2 separate regions of the Homo sapiens genome follow, and region 2 is linked to region 1. Evidence: promoter capture Hi-C in 16 types of primary human blood cells and fetal thymus (Javierre and others, 2016). All regions are on one chromosome and are shown on one strand. The core of a region is centred on a gene start or on the middle of the fragment in contact, and the rest is flanking DNA. Distances in the headings are between cores, read along the strand shown. Region 1 holds the start of BIRC2 (baculoviral IAP repeat containing 2). Region 2 overlaps SYTL2 (synaptotagmin like 2).

Region 1 (6,338 bases), core at 2,038-4,537:
AACAATCCAAATGTCTGACAACTTACTCCACGGATGAAGCTGTGGGAAAAACAGGCACTCACATACATTGCTGATTGGATTGCAAAATGCCAACATACTCATGGATGGGTATGTGGCCATATTAGGCAAATTTATGTATGGATTTACCATTTGAACTAACTTCTGGGAATATATCCTAAAATAAGATGTGTTCCCATGATTATTCATTACAGCACTATTTGTAATAGCAAAAGGCTGGAAACCACCCAGATGTCCATCCATAGGGAAGTAGCTGAATATATTATGGTACTAATTTTATCTATGGCTGGGGAGCTTATTCAGGCTGGCTCCTTAGTCTTTGACACGGCCCTAACAGTTTTTGGCTGCTTTCTGAATTACATTGTTCAAGTTGAATATATTATGGCACATCTACACAATGGAGTACTATATAGAAATGAGGAATAGCTCTATATGTTAGTATTATACAATCTCTAGAATTTATTATAAAGTGAAAAAAGGTGGAGAAAATGTGCTACTACTGTTTATCTAAGAAAAGGGTAGGTATAAACATGCATAATTACATTTTTAAAATGAAAAAATGAATCATAAAAAGTGTTTAAGTCATTACTTATAGGGCAGGAAGGAAAAAGTAGAGGGGAGACCAAGGATTTTCAAAATAAAGGGAGTTACAGATGTGTAATCAAAGAGGTTAAATAAAACCTTGACTTCCTGAATTTGAATCGGAAGTATCAATGAGTTCATAATATATTTGATTTAAAAGACAAAAACCAAATCAAAACAAACCCATACTAACCAGCTCTGTCCATTGAACAGGTATAGAAACAATCAAACTCATTAACAACACGACAAACATTTTTTGTTTGTTTCTTTGTTGTTCCTTGCAGCGCCAGCTTAAAGGAGACATCCAGATTATGCTCTTTAAATATCATTTCCCACTAAAGGATCCAGGGCACTTAGGAGTAATGGCTTATTATGGGTATGGAGTAAGAAATACACAAAATGAGCCTGGAAAGCAAAGACTACTAGGAAAGTATCAGAAAGACTCAGGAGCCAACCTGAGTAAACTCTCACCGGCCTAAAATAAACAACTTGAGCACTAATAGTGGTAATAGCTACAGTGGATTACAACTCACCAAACTTCTTTAAATCCCTGGATTCATAATGATGGCTGTTTACTTTTGAGGGTTTTTAAAAAAAATCCGGCAGAGATTTTTAAATAGTATATGGTAGTGATCTAATTTTATTTTCCATTAGAATAACCATTCATTCAGCATTACTTATTGAGTAATTAATCATTTTCTCATTAATACATAATGCCAGTATATCAAATTCCCAAATACATAGATATGGGTCTCTTCTTGGGGCTCTGTATCTCCTTCCTTTAATTGTCCATCTTAGGGCGTTTAATAATACAAGACTGTCTCAATTACTATGGCTTTATTGTAACTCATTACCTGGTAGGACAAGACCTTCCAATCTTACTTTTCTTCTTCAAAATTGTTTTAAATACTGTAAATTTTTTTTCTACATAAATGTGAAAAACGTTAGAAGGGCAACTGCAGCAGACATACATAGCTTATTTTTTTAAGATTAACAGCAACTTTATACTAGCAAAATGAAAAAAAATTAACTGAATAAACAGGTAACTGAATTAACTAGCTGTAACACTAGACTACAAAGTTATACAAGATTAAAAGTTATGAGGTACTATTTATTATATGTAAATATTACAAATATTTTTTGTTAAAAATATCTAAGGCTTTTGAGTTTTTGAAATGCAAGCTTTCCCCTATACTTAAGTATATTCATTATCTTACTGCTTTGGTCAGGACAAGAACTGAAAAAGAGAAATAATCTTGAGTTCAGAATGAACAATTCTTGCTATATATATTTTCCCACATGTGTTAGGAATGTTCTGTAAACCTTCCGAGAAATAGTGACTTGAACTAAATACTAAACTACTACCAAGCCCCAGGTGCATTTTTGGAAGTTTTTAGTCATTGGGAGCCATGGCATTTCTTTTCTCTGTATTACAAACTGTTACACTCACTTTCTTTGACTATTAACATTGGAACAGTAGACCTCCTGTTCTGTGACTGACTGGCAGGCAGAAATGACACAGACAGGAAATGGGAAATGGTTCAGGGTCTTGGAATTCCCCCGGCTCCCTAATTAAGTGGCTTGCTATTTGGAAGTTTTTTAAATATTTGCCCCTTGGAGTTCCCCAGAGAGAAGCAAGCATCGGATTCAACGGGCAAAGAGCGTCAACTTCAAAAGTCGTTCGTTGGTTGTCATACCACAAACATTTACTGCACGACACTGTGTCTATGGCACTATTGGGGGAGTATGGCGGGGGGATACAAAAGGTCCATGACTAGCAAAAGCCAAGGGTTTTTATTTACAAATTTTCTATTACCTAAGCATTAAAAAAAATTGGGCTCCTCTCTGGTTTATGTACAATTATATGTGCATGTACACCAATACACAGGCAGACGTATATATTTCATTTTATTGAAACATTCAGAAAATACTGGGAGTGAAGCCTGACTTGCAATACAGTTCTCTTTGCTGGCAATGAGCATCTGAAATAATGACACTTTTTTCTTTAGTGCATATGAACTGTTTGTCTCCAGAACAGAAAACCAAAAGTTTAAAAACAAGATACTCCCGTTGACATCAAGTCTTCAGAATTATTCATCTGATGCTTCCTAGTTTCCAAAGTTTCGCTTTTTTCGATTTGCACAGGCAGCTGTTGAACGCTGATGCTACACAAACGGTTACAATTGTTTACTTAAGCAAAAAATGCCACCAGACTGACTCCATCCTCAAAATGCAGTCATCTGGACGGGGGGAGGCATCACACTTGGGGAGCCTTGCCAGGGGCCAGATCATAACCCTGAGGTGACACAGGGTAGGACGCGCAAAACCACCGGCGCCAGGGCGTTTCCGCAGGGTTTCCCAAAACTCAAACGCAGCGGCTCACGGTTTGCCACGTCCCCCAGGAGAATGGTAGACACAGAGAGGAAATGTGGAGAGGGCACAAACCGCAAGGTGAAGAAAACGAACAAACACCGAGTTGATACGGATAGTCCCCGTTCCCCTGAGGGCCGACCCCGTGACTCCCGATGAGCGTCCAGTTGCGCCGGGCATCCTGGCCTCCCAGCGTCTTTCCCGGAGGTTCATCGCCGCACGGCGGAAAGCGCTCTCGGTTCCGCTTTCCGGCCCCAGCCTCCCGGGCGCCCTCGCGCGGCGGCTAACGCTGGTCCTCGGCCGGGCGCGCTGACGTCATCGTGCGTCAGAGTGAGCCCGGATGGGGCGGCGGGCTTCGGGAGCGCCCGGGCTGATCCGAGCCGAGCGGGCCGTATCTCCTTGTCGGCGCCGCTGATTCCCGGCTCTGCGGAGGCCTCTAGGCAGCCGCGCAGCTTCCGTGTTTGCTGCGCCCGCACTGCGGTGAGTGCTGCTCCTTCCGGGCTCGGGCGGCGTGGGGCGGGTGGGGACGCGAGGGCCCGCGGGGGCCCACTTCCCTGATGTGGCGGCGAACGAGGAAGGACGGGGCCTGAGGCCCTTCGGCCAAGGGTCGAGGGTCGCCGGGGGCTCTCTGCTTTCTACTCTCGCCAAGGTTTTATTGGATTCGGAAGCCCCAACTTCGAGACTTGCAGTCAAAGCGATTTTTAAAATGACTTGTTTTCAAGCCTCTGGCCGCCGCCCACTCTTCTGGCCCTTGGACTTTGACCAAGATGTTTTCTCGCAGTTTTTGCAAGGTTTTAAACTTAGCCCTCGGCGTTCTTTTAATGTAATACATTGAAACGAAGATATTTCGGTGGCGGCGATATTTCATATTTCATAGTTGCCACTGCGCTCTGTCATTCCAGTAGTCGTCTGTTGTGTATTGTGAGAAGCAACTCTGGGAAATTATTGGGTAAATCCCATAGTTTCTATTCTTTTCCCTTCCATCCTATCCCCTGCCCAGCTGCAATTTGCGTAAAGAGAATGCAGCAGTGCGGTGCACGTAGATAAAAATCTTTCATTTAAAGATAGGATATAAGACCGGGTGTAATTAAAGCAATCATGCCAGTGGTCGTAGTGCCGGAGCCACTGTTTCACAGGCCACTGTGTTAGGTTTTGTTTTCGAGTTGCTTTCTGTGGTCGTTGCTTTGAAATTGTAAGGGAATGGCAGAGTTTAAGAGTTTATATTAATGAACTCGTGGTGCATTTTACTGCAGTTTTCCTAGTCGTGGAGAGACTTGATATTACAAACTAACGTTGCTGTCTTAATTCCTGCTGTACTGCTGCTGACAGGGTGTAGTGGAGTGTCTGTCTGTCTTTTTAACCAATGTGCCTTTGCCTCCAGCAGAGTGCCAGAGTTACCTTTAGGCCAGAAAAGGGGAGGAGAGCAAGGACAAAATGTTTCCTGTGTGAAAATTTCCATCTGTCTCTGAAGTTGTGCGTTTTAAAGACACGTATAGTTAGTGCTATGGGGAGTATGTTGCATTTACTTATTTTAATTAATAGCTTTTTCATTTAGAAAGTTGTGACAAATTGCTGGAATTAAGATGTATTATCTAAAGTGTGAATTATTCTTAGACTTTACTGAATAAATTGAAGAGTATGTAAGTTCTATTTGGCATGCACATACAGTTTTCTAAAATACTTTTTGTTTTTTCTTTTCAGATTTACAACCCTGAAGAATCTCCCTATCCCTATTTTGTCCCCCTGCAGTAATAAATCCCATTATGGAGATCTCGAAACTTTATAAAGGGATATAGTTTGAATTCTATGGAGTGTAATTTTGTGTATGAATTATATTTTTAAAACATTGAAGAGTTTTCAGAAAGAAGGCTAGTAGAGTTGATTACTGATACTTTATGCTAAGCAGTACTTTTTTGGTAGTACAATATTTTGTTAGGCGTTTCTGATAACACTAGAAAGGACAAGTTTTATCTTGTGATAAATTGATTAATGTTTACAACATGACTGATAATTATAGCTGAATAGTCCTTAAATGATGAACAGGTTATTTAGTTTTTAAATGCAGTGTAAAAAGTGTGCTGTGGAAATTTTATGGCTAACTAAGTTTATGGAGAAAATACCTTCAGTTGATCAAGAATAATAGTGGTATACAAAGTTAGGAAGAAAGTCAACATGATGCTGCAGGAAATGGAAACAAATACAAATGATATTTAACAAAGATAGAGTTTACAGTTTTTGAACTTTAAGCCAAATTCATTTGACATCAAGCACTATAGCAGGCACAGGTTCAACAAAGCTTGTGGGTATTGACTTCCCCCAAAAGTTGTCAGCTGAAGTAATTTAGCCCACTTAAGTAAATACTATGATGATAAGCTGTGTGAACTTAGCTTTTAAATAGTGTGACCATATGAAGGTTTTAATTACTTTTGTTTATTGGAATAAAATGAGATTTTTTGGGTTGTCATGTTAAAGTGCTTATAGGGAAAGAAGCCTGCATATAATTTTTTACCTTGTGGCATAATCAGTAATTGGTCTGTTATTCAGGCTTCATAGCTTGTAACCAAATATAAATAAAAGGCATAATTTAGGTATTCTATAGTTGCTTAGAATTTTGTTAATATAAATCTCTGTGAAAAATCAAGGAGTTTTAATATTTTCAGAAGTGCATCCACCTTTCAGGGCTTTAAGTTAGTATTACTCAAGATTATGAACAAATAGCACTTAGGTTACCTGAAAGAGTTACTACAACCCCAAAGAGTTGTGTTCTAAGTAGTATCTTGGTAATTCAGAGAGATACTCATCCTACCTGAATATAAACTGAGATAAATCCAGTAAAGAAAGTGTAGTAAATTCTACATAAGAGTCTATCATTGATTTCTTTTTGTGGTAAAAATCTTAGTTCATGTGAAGAAATTTCATGTGAATGTTTTAGCTATCAAACAGTACTGTCACCTACTCATGCACAAAACTGCCTCCCAAAGACTTTTCCCAGGTCCCTCGTATCAAAACATTAAGAGTATAATGGAAGATAGCACGATCTTGTCAGATTGGACAAACAGCAACAAACAAAAAATGAAGTATGACTTTTCCTGTGAACTCTACAGAATGTCTACATATTCAACTTTCCCCGCCGGGGTGCCTGTCTCAGAAAGGAGTCTTGCTCGTGCTGGTTTTTATTATACTGGTGTGAATGACAAGGTCAAATGCTTCTGTTGTGGCCTGATGCTGGATAACTGGAAACTAGGAGACAGTCCTATTCAAAAGCATAAACAGCTATATCCTAGCTGTAGCTTTATTCAGAATCTGGTTTCAGCTAGTCTGGGATCCACCTCTAAGAATACGTCTCCAATGAGAAACAGTTTTGCACA
Region 2 (6,338 bases), core at 1,193-3,692, about 17 Mb before region 1:
GAAAGTACTACCATATGTTAAGATCACTGAAAAGAGAGGCTGATATCTTTTTGTCTAAGCCCTTCATTTTACTCAGAAGATTCTGAATCTTCAGAGTTAAAAGCCAAAGAAGAGGTGGTAGATCCTTTACAGGCCCCAACTATCTATGCTACTATAATTCAACAGGGCACCTAAAGGGCTTCCTATGTTCCTCTACACCACACTGAGTCACTTAGCTCTGCCCTCATCCATCCAAATCCAAGGCAAGGGAAATTTAAACTAGAGGGCCACACATTATGAAAAGTGTACATCCAAATGATTTCCATCAGCAGATTTCTGACACCATTCCCTTCTCCCCGCTCCTCCTTCCCAAACGAATGCTTGTTGTAAATGCACTAGCCAAGTCAACTCACCTGCTATCTGGGGCCTCTTCTTTCTCATAGATGCTCTGATGATATCTGCGCCATGGATTTTGTCCCTGTGCCTTTTTGCCTTGGCTTCATAAAACCATTGGCCACTCATATTCTTCAGCTGCTGGTCATCCTTAATTTTTTCAGGCAAATGTCTACAAAAGGAAAAGATCTTTAGTTTGCTGAGAACCCACAGTAAATAAATGAGTTCATTATGACACCGCATAAAGACATGTGTAAACACACAGATAAAATGAAGCTTTAATATTTCAGATGATCCCAGAAACTTCCCAGATGACTAACAAGTGTATGTTCACCTTTGAAAAGTCAGAGAAGACAAGGCCAACATTTTTTCAAATAAAGGTTTAATCCACGATTCCCGTATGATGCCTGAAATTTCTCAAGAGCAGATTCACTTTTTGGCTGCATTCTTCAGTGTCTGCTGTTCAAATGCAAATACCCCAGGGAGGGATAATACGGTAGGCTTCCCTAAGCCTTGGTTTCCTTATCCGTAAAAAAGCATTAGTAATAGTAACCTTTGGACTTTAAAATTGGGGTTTCTTTGAGGTTTAACCGAGTGAATTCATTCAATAGCTCTCTGCACCTCCCTGGCACCTAATAAACACTGGATGGGGTAGTCATTAGCTCATCAGTCCTTTCCATTTTGGGTGATATGAGTTTATTAGAGACTTTCCTGGAAGCCTGTGGAGGAGGAGTGATGTCTCTGATGCTTATTGTTAGGGAAAGGCATCTTTAAAAGGCTGCTGGAATCAGGGAAGACCAAAATTGAGGAGGAGTGTGTACAGGCAAGTTCCATTTGTGCAGATCCTGCATTTAAGAGTTTCACAATTATTCATGCTTACTGAAAAGCTAAAACCTAAAGAACAAACAAGATAGTCTGCCCTCCTAAAACTTCCCTAAAAACTTTGTTCTAACTGACAAGTCTTAACCTCTCCATCTCTCTATCCATCTCAGTAAAATAAAAAAATCACAAAATCTCTCTTGTTTATAGAGATGTACTTAGAATAAAGTGGAATAAAAGCTGTAAGGGAACACTATACTCTTGGAAGATAATGTGCTAACATAAATCCAAGAGGGTTTTAAGATAGTCATACAAACTAATATGCACTCTTCCTCAATTAGCAAATCAAAGTGCTTCAGGCAGAGAATGTGAATGGGCCAAGGTGGTAGCAGCGCTGCATGTAAGGGTTGCACACAGGCATACCTGGGAGTGGGAAAAAGAGGGGGAGCAGTTATCCCAGGTCTAGCAAGAATGTCTCCTCTCTCCCAAGCGTGCCTGGAGAGTGTCCTTCCACCCAGAGTAAACTCTTACAGGAACTTCCTCTCTTTGTCATGACAGCCCCATCTATAAACCCTAACAGGGAGAGCATCATTGCTTCATAGTTCTCAGTCAGCAACGATATCATGGTTTTTATTAAATGTTCCTAATGGTTTGACACTGCTTTCAACACTGTTTTCAGCAGAGCAAACAACTGCTGGACTGTTGGTGAACCTTTGCCTTCTCCTCCCAAAAGGACCAAGTTTGAGTTCAATTCCAGAATGGAGAAGTTCTTCTACTTCTCCCTGGTGAGTTCCTGGGGGCAGGGTCTGTACTCAATACATCTTTGTTTAGTGTCTGGAAAATACGGGGTATTTATTCAGATCTTGCAGAGTGGAGGAATATCAGATGAGGCTCCTGACCACCTAAAAAGGCTTCAGGTTACCTTTTCAGATTCATTTTTCCAGCACTCACGCCCATACCCCACTTGCCAGCAGGCTCAGCTTCTTACAATTCTCCAGTGCTCTTCTGTGACCTCTGTAGATGACAGAGGCAGGAAGTTGTGGCAGAAAGACTCTGGGTTTTCAAGGCTCCCCAAATTACATCCAAATCTCAGTTCTGACCCTTCCTAGATGGGATCTTGGACAGTTTACCAAACTCCTCTAAGCTTTAGTCTCCTTGTTTTTAAGGATCAGGGAAAATAAGACCTACCCTCCAGGACTTCTGAGATGATTGAGATGTTTAACTGAAAGTACTTAGTACTGCCTAGATCTTGGTACAAGGCCAGTTAATGTGAAGTCTCATGGGATGTCTTTCCCTCACTTCTCTGTCCAGCCCGTTGCTCCTCATCCTTCAAATCCAGCTCAAACACTGCCTCACTGGGAAGCTTTCCCTAACTCAGGAGGGCACAGTTATTACAGTTTCTCCTTTTCCATTGCTCCCACAGCACCTCCACTTCAGTCCTTACTATATCATATTCCAGTGATCTGTTTGCACATCTGTTGTACTCACTAACCTGTGGTCTTTGCAAACTCCTTGAAAGTGAGGACTATGTCTTAACCACCTTTGTAATGCCAGCACCTAGCACGGAGCCTGGAACAGAGCTGATACCCAATAACTGTCTGTTGAGTGAATAAATCAAAGAACAAATAAACGCTCAGCAGCCATCCTGAGTCAGGCAAGAGATCAAGAAGATCCTGTCACTGCTGTGATTAAGTGAACCTCAGACCCCATCACAATGAATGGTGTCTCCTCCTGATGCAGCAGGACATGCTCATCTCTCATCAGAACAGGAAAAAACATCATGAAATGTGGTGTCGGTCAGCATTCTTGTTGAAGGAGGCCACAAACCCTTATAGCAGAACAACACCCAATTTCTTTTCATAAGATTGTTTATTTTTGTTTTTCAACTAAAATGCACTTTGTGGGGATTCTTGTGCAACCCTTGATCTGTTCCTGCCTAAATGACTGTCTGTAAGCCCACGATCAATGCACAATGAGCACAGGTTTTGCATCGACTCCCTGAAACACATGGTCCCTACAAAGGCTGATAGCCATTATAGTAAGGAAAGGGTTTCTGGCTCACTTGTTTTAAAGTGGCAAAAGAACAGGAAATTCTTTCAAATGTAGTTAAGTGCCACTTACATATTTCCTTACATGACTATCACTACTAGGTTTAATAATCAACTTCTTTTTCTATCTTAGTCACTTGTACTATTTCGTAGATAAATCCATATGTATAACATCAAAGTTTTGTAAAGATGTAGATCATTTTTAGAATCCCACTATCTAGTGCTGCTGTTAAAATCTTCTCGTTTTCCAGCCCACGTTCATCTCTCATTTTTTTCTGAACTCTAATTACATCAACAAAATGAGCATTTGATTCTCTAATTATCGTACCATCTAGATGAAGAGAGAAAGGGGTAAGTTTCTTGGGACTGACATTTATCCTTTACCATCCTCTCCACACACACACGTTATGTTTAGCAGAGAGTTAAGTAGAGAGAAGACGCTCAGTAAACACCGGTGGGCTGGTGGGCAGAAGTGAGGGCTGAAGAAGAGCACTCAATCCAGAAAGTACACTGGCCTGCTGGCCTCCCAGGTGGGATGTCCTGGTCATTCTCTCGTTCATTCTCCCATTCCTTCAGCTAGCACACAGTATCTGCTTTGTGCTGAACCACACATCTGACACTTAACAAGCCTCTTATCATTTCATCCTTACAATTTCACCATGCTGTTCAAAGAATTTCATCCATTTCAAAAGATGGCCATTTTACCTCTTCTGTATGCTAAAAGCCATATCTAAACCCTGTCTGGCTATTTGTTCACTGACTCATTAATTCCCATACCAGCCATCTGCTTCAAATTGGACATTAAAAATTCTATCTACAGCCCTAACTGTCAATGTCAACTCCTTTTCATGCCAAGAGTGTGAGCACTTACAGAGGAAAGCCAGAAGAGCAGAAATGCCCTCTGGGCTGGATTCAACACATTTGCCCTCAGCCTACCCCTTTTCTCCTTGTGCTCACTTATGTACACCTCAGCTTCCAGCTACTCAACAGGACTAGGCAAAGCTCGAACATCACCTGCAGGACCTGGTTCATAGTATTTAGTCAACTGTGGACAGCTGCTGGCCAGATAGGTTGACTGGTCTATTCTCCAGCCTTTCTTTTTTCATCTTGCCCAGAATATACTGGGCAAGATGTTTAGACTGTGTGATTTGGAGGTGCTCTCAGATGTTTGTTTTGAATGTGAGAGCTGAAAGGTACCTTAGATAGTTACAAATGACCTCACTTTCTAGATAAAATGATAGAAGCCCAGAGAAGTTAAGAGGCTTGCCCAAGGTCACACAGAGCTGGCAGCAGAAGCCAGTCTGACTCCCAGCCAACACACTTTCTACTACCCGATCCTGCCTCAGAGAGCCAAACATGATTTCGGTTTCTAAGATGGCTGTCACACTTCACTCTTTCTCCTAAGGAACTCAATCTTTGATGAAGAATCTGAAAACCAACATGTGGAAAACAAACTACAAACCTTCCTTAGAGTAGAAAACAAGAAATATCCACCTTTTACATGACACATCGTAGATCTCTGCAGTCTGCTGAGAGGCAGCACAGTGTAAGGGAAGTGCACAGGCCTTGATGTTGGATCAACAAGGCTTCAATCCTGCGGGGCACTTACCCTCTTCAACCCTATCTCCTCATCTGTTAAGTGGATTCAGCTACACTGTTTTGAAGATGAAATAGGAAAATCTATGTGAAGATCCATGTACAGTCCCTTGACAAATGTTAGTTCCTTTCCCCTTTGCTTTGACAGAAAAACACCATGAGAGGTCCTGGAAATTAGTCCTTCAATGACAACTGCCTTCATTAAAAAAAAAAAAAAAAAAAAAAAAAAAAAAAAAACACAACTAGGTCTAAGGAGGCAGCTGAGAATCATAAGATGTGGTGGCGGTTGAGATCGTATCTACTGCAAAAACACCCATCGCTGTAGATGTGGTTGTGTGTATATGGGGGTGGGGGATGCAGTGCTGGTGGTGGTGTACAGACAGACATGAGCAGCAATTTCCTGCTGGCAGTGTGACGCAAAGCACAGGAAATGCCACCTTTTGAGTATGTGATTTTCAAACCATAAAAGACTAAAATTACATATGTGTATGTATGGTTATGTTTCCTTAAAGGTGGGTCAGGGCAGCAGGAGAGAAGACACAGGATAGGGGTGGAAGAGAGAGAAAGAATCCACCCTGATGTCTCCTTCACTGCTGGTCTGTGAAATGTCTCCACATGGGAGTTAGGGAAGCAGGCTGTGTAGCGATACATGGTAATAACTGGGTCCAGTACTTGTGGCTACAGGTAGTGGAGCAACATAAAAGACAGTGTGGTAGCAACAGTGATCTGGAACCGTTATTGTCTCAGCTGTACCCCAGAGACACCCCAGTGACTATTTCCTTGGGTACGAGTCCATGTTCTACCATTAACAGACCAAGTGATTTAGGAACTGGATATGTCTCTGTGCAACACTCACTTTTCCTATCCATGAAATCAAGATGGGAAGTAACAAAACCTTTTTTTTTAATTAGCTGGATGTGGTAGTACACACATGTGGTTTTAGCTACTTGGGAGACAGGAGGATCACTTGAGCCCAGGAGTTGGAGGCTGCACTGAGCTATGATTGCCTCACTGCACTCCAGCCTGGGTCACAGAGAGAAACTCTCTTTTTTAAAAAAAAAAAAAAAAAAAAAAAGATGGGAAGTGACATATAAACTAAATCATCTCCAAAGTATCTTGAATGAGCTTGGCTGTGAACAAGTCAAAGCACTGGACATATTAGGAATGGCAACATTTCCATTTGAATGCCAGATCTCATCTACCGCCATACTGAAAAAGATTCTAAAGTGATATCTGGTCTTGCAGGCAACAGTGGTGTATCCATTAGTGATGTCCTCTTGGCTACGGGAGAGTTATACTCCAAAGTCTATAAAACATTAGTATTTAAAAGAAAAGTCTGAATTTTAGTAATAAATTGGCCTTTCTAATGATGTTTTGATTGGGCTGATATAATTATATAATGTGTTTCTAAGCCAAATAACACCTAGGAGGAATGAGGCATTGTAAAGTCATGTTAGGGAAACAAAATTGAGATTTTAAATTTGCAACTGATAATCCATTAAA

What was found. Contacts are between HindIII fragments. The CHiCAGO score rates a contact against its expected background, and 5 or more counts as called.
Region 2: a contact is called between a fragment that was not itself captured here and the fragment with the promoter of BIRC2 in region 1, in 1 of 17 cell types (non-activated CD4 T cells). The highest score is 8.7, in non-activated CD4 T cells.

Annotation. Positions count from the first base shown.
Region 1 is chr11:102,343,927-102,350,264 of GRCh38, forward strand. BIRC2 (baculoviral IAP repeat containing 2) reads left to right here and starts at 3,288. Exons shown (of 9, transcript NM_001166.5): 1 at 3,288-3,450; 2 at 4,672-6,338. The coding sequence starts at 5,929. RefSeq lists an enhancer at 3,840-3,909. The HindIII fragment of the contact is 3,484 bases long and covers 1,781-5,264 here.
Region 2 is chr11:85,747,880-85,754,217 of GRCh38, forward strand. SYTL2 (synaptotagmin like 2) reads right to left here. Exons shown (of 20, transcript NM_206927.4): 3 at 393-544. Among named protein-coding and RNA genes, the nearest start is that of SYTL2, 60 kb to the right of the region's middle. The HindIII fragment of the contact is 219 bases long and covers 2,334-2,552 here.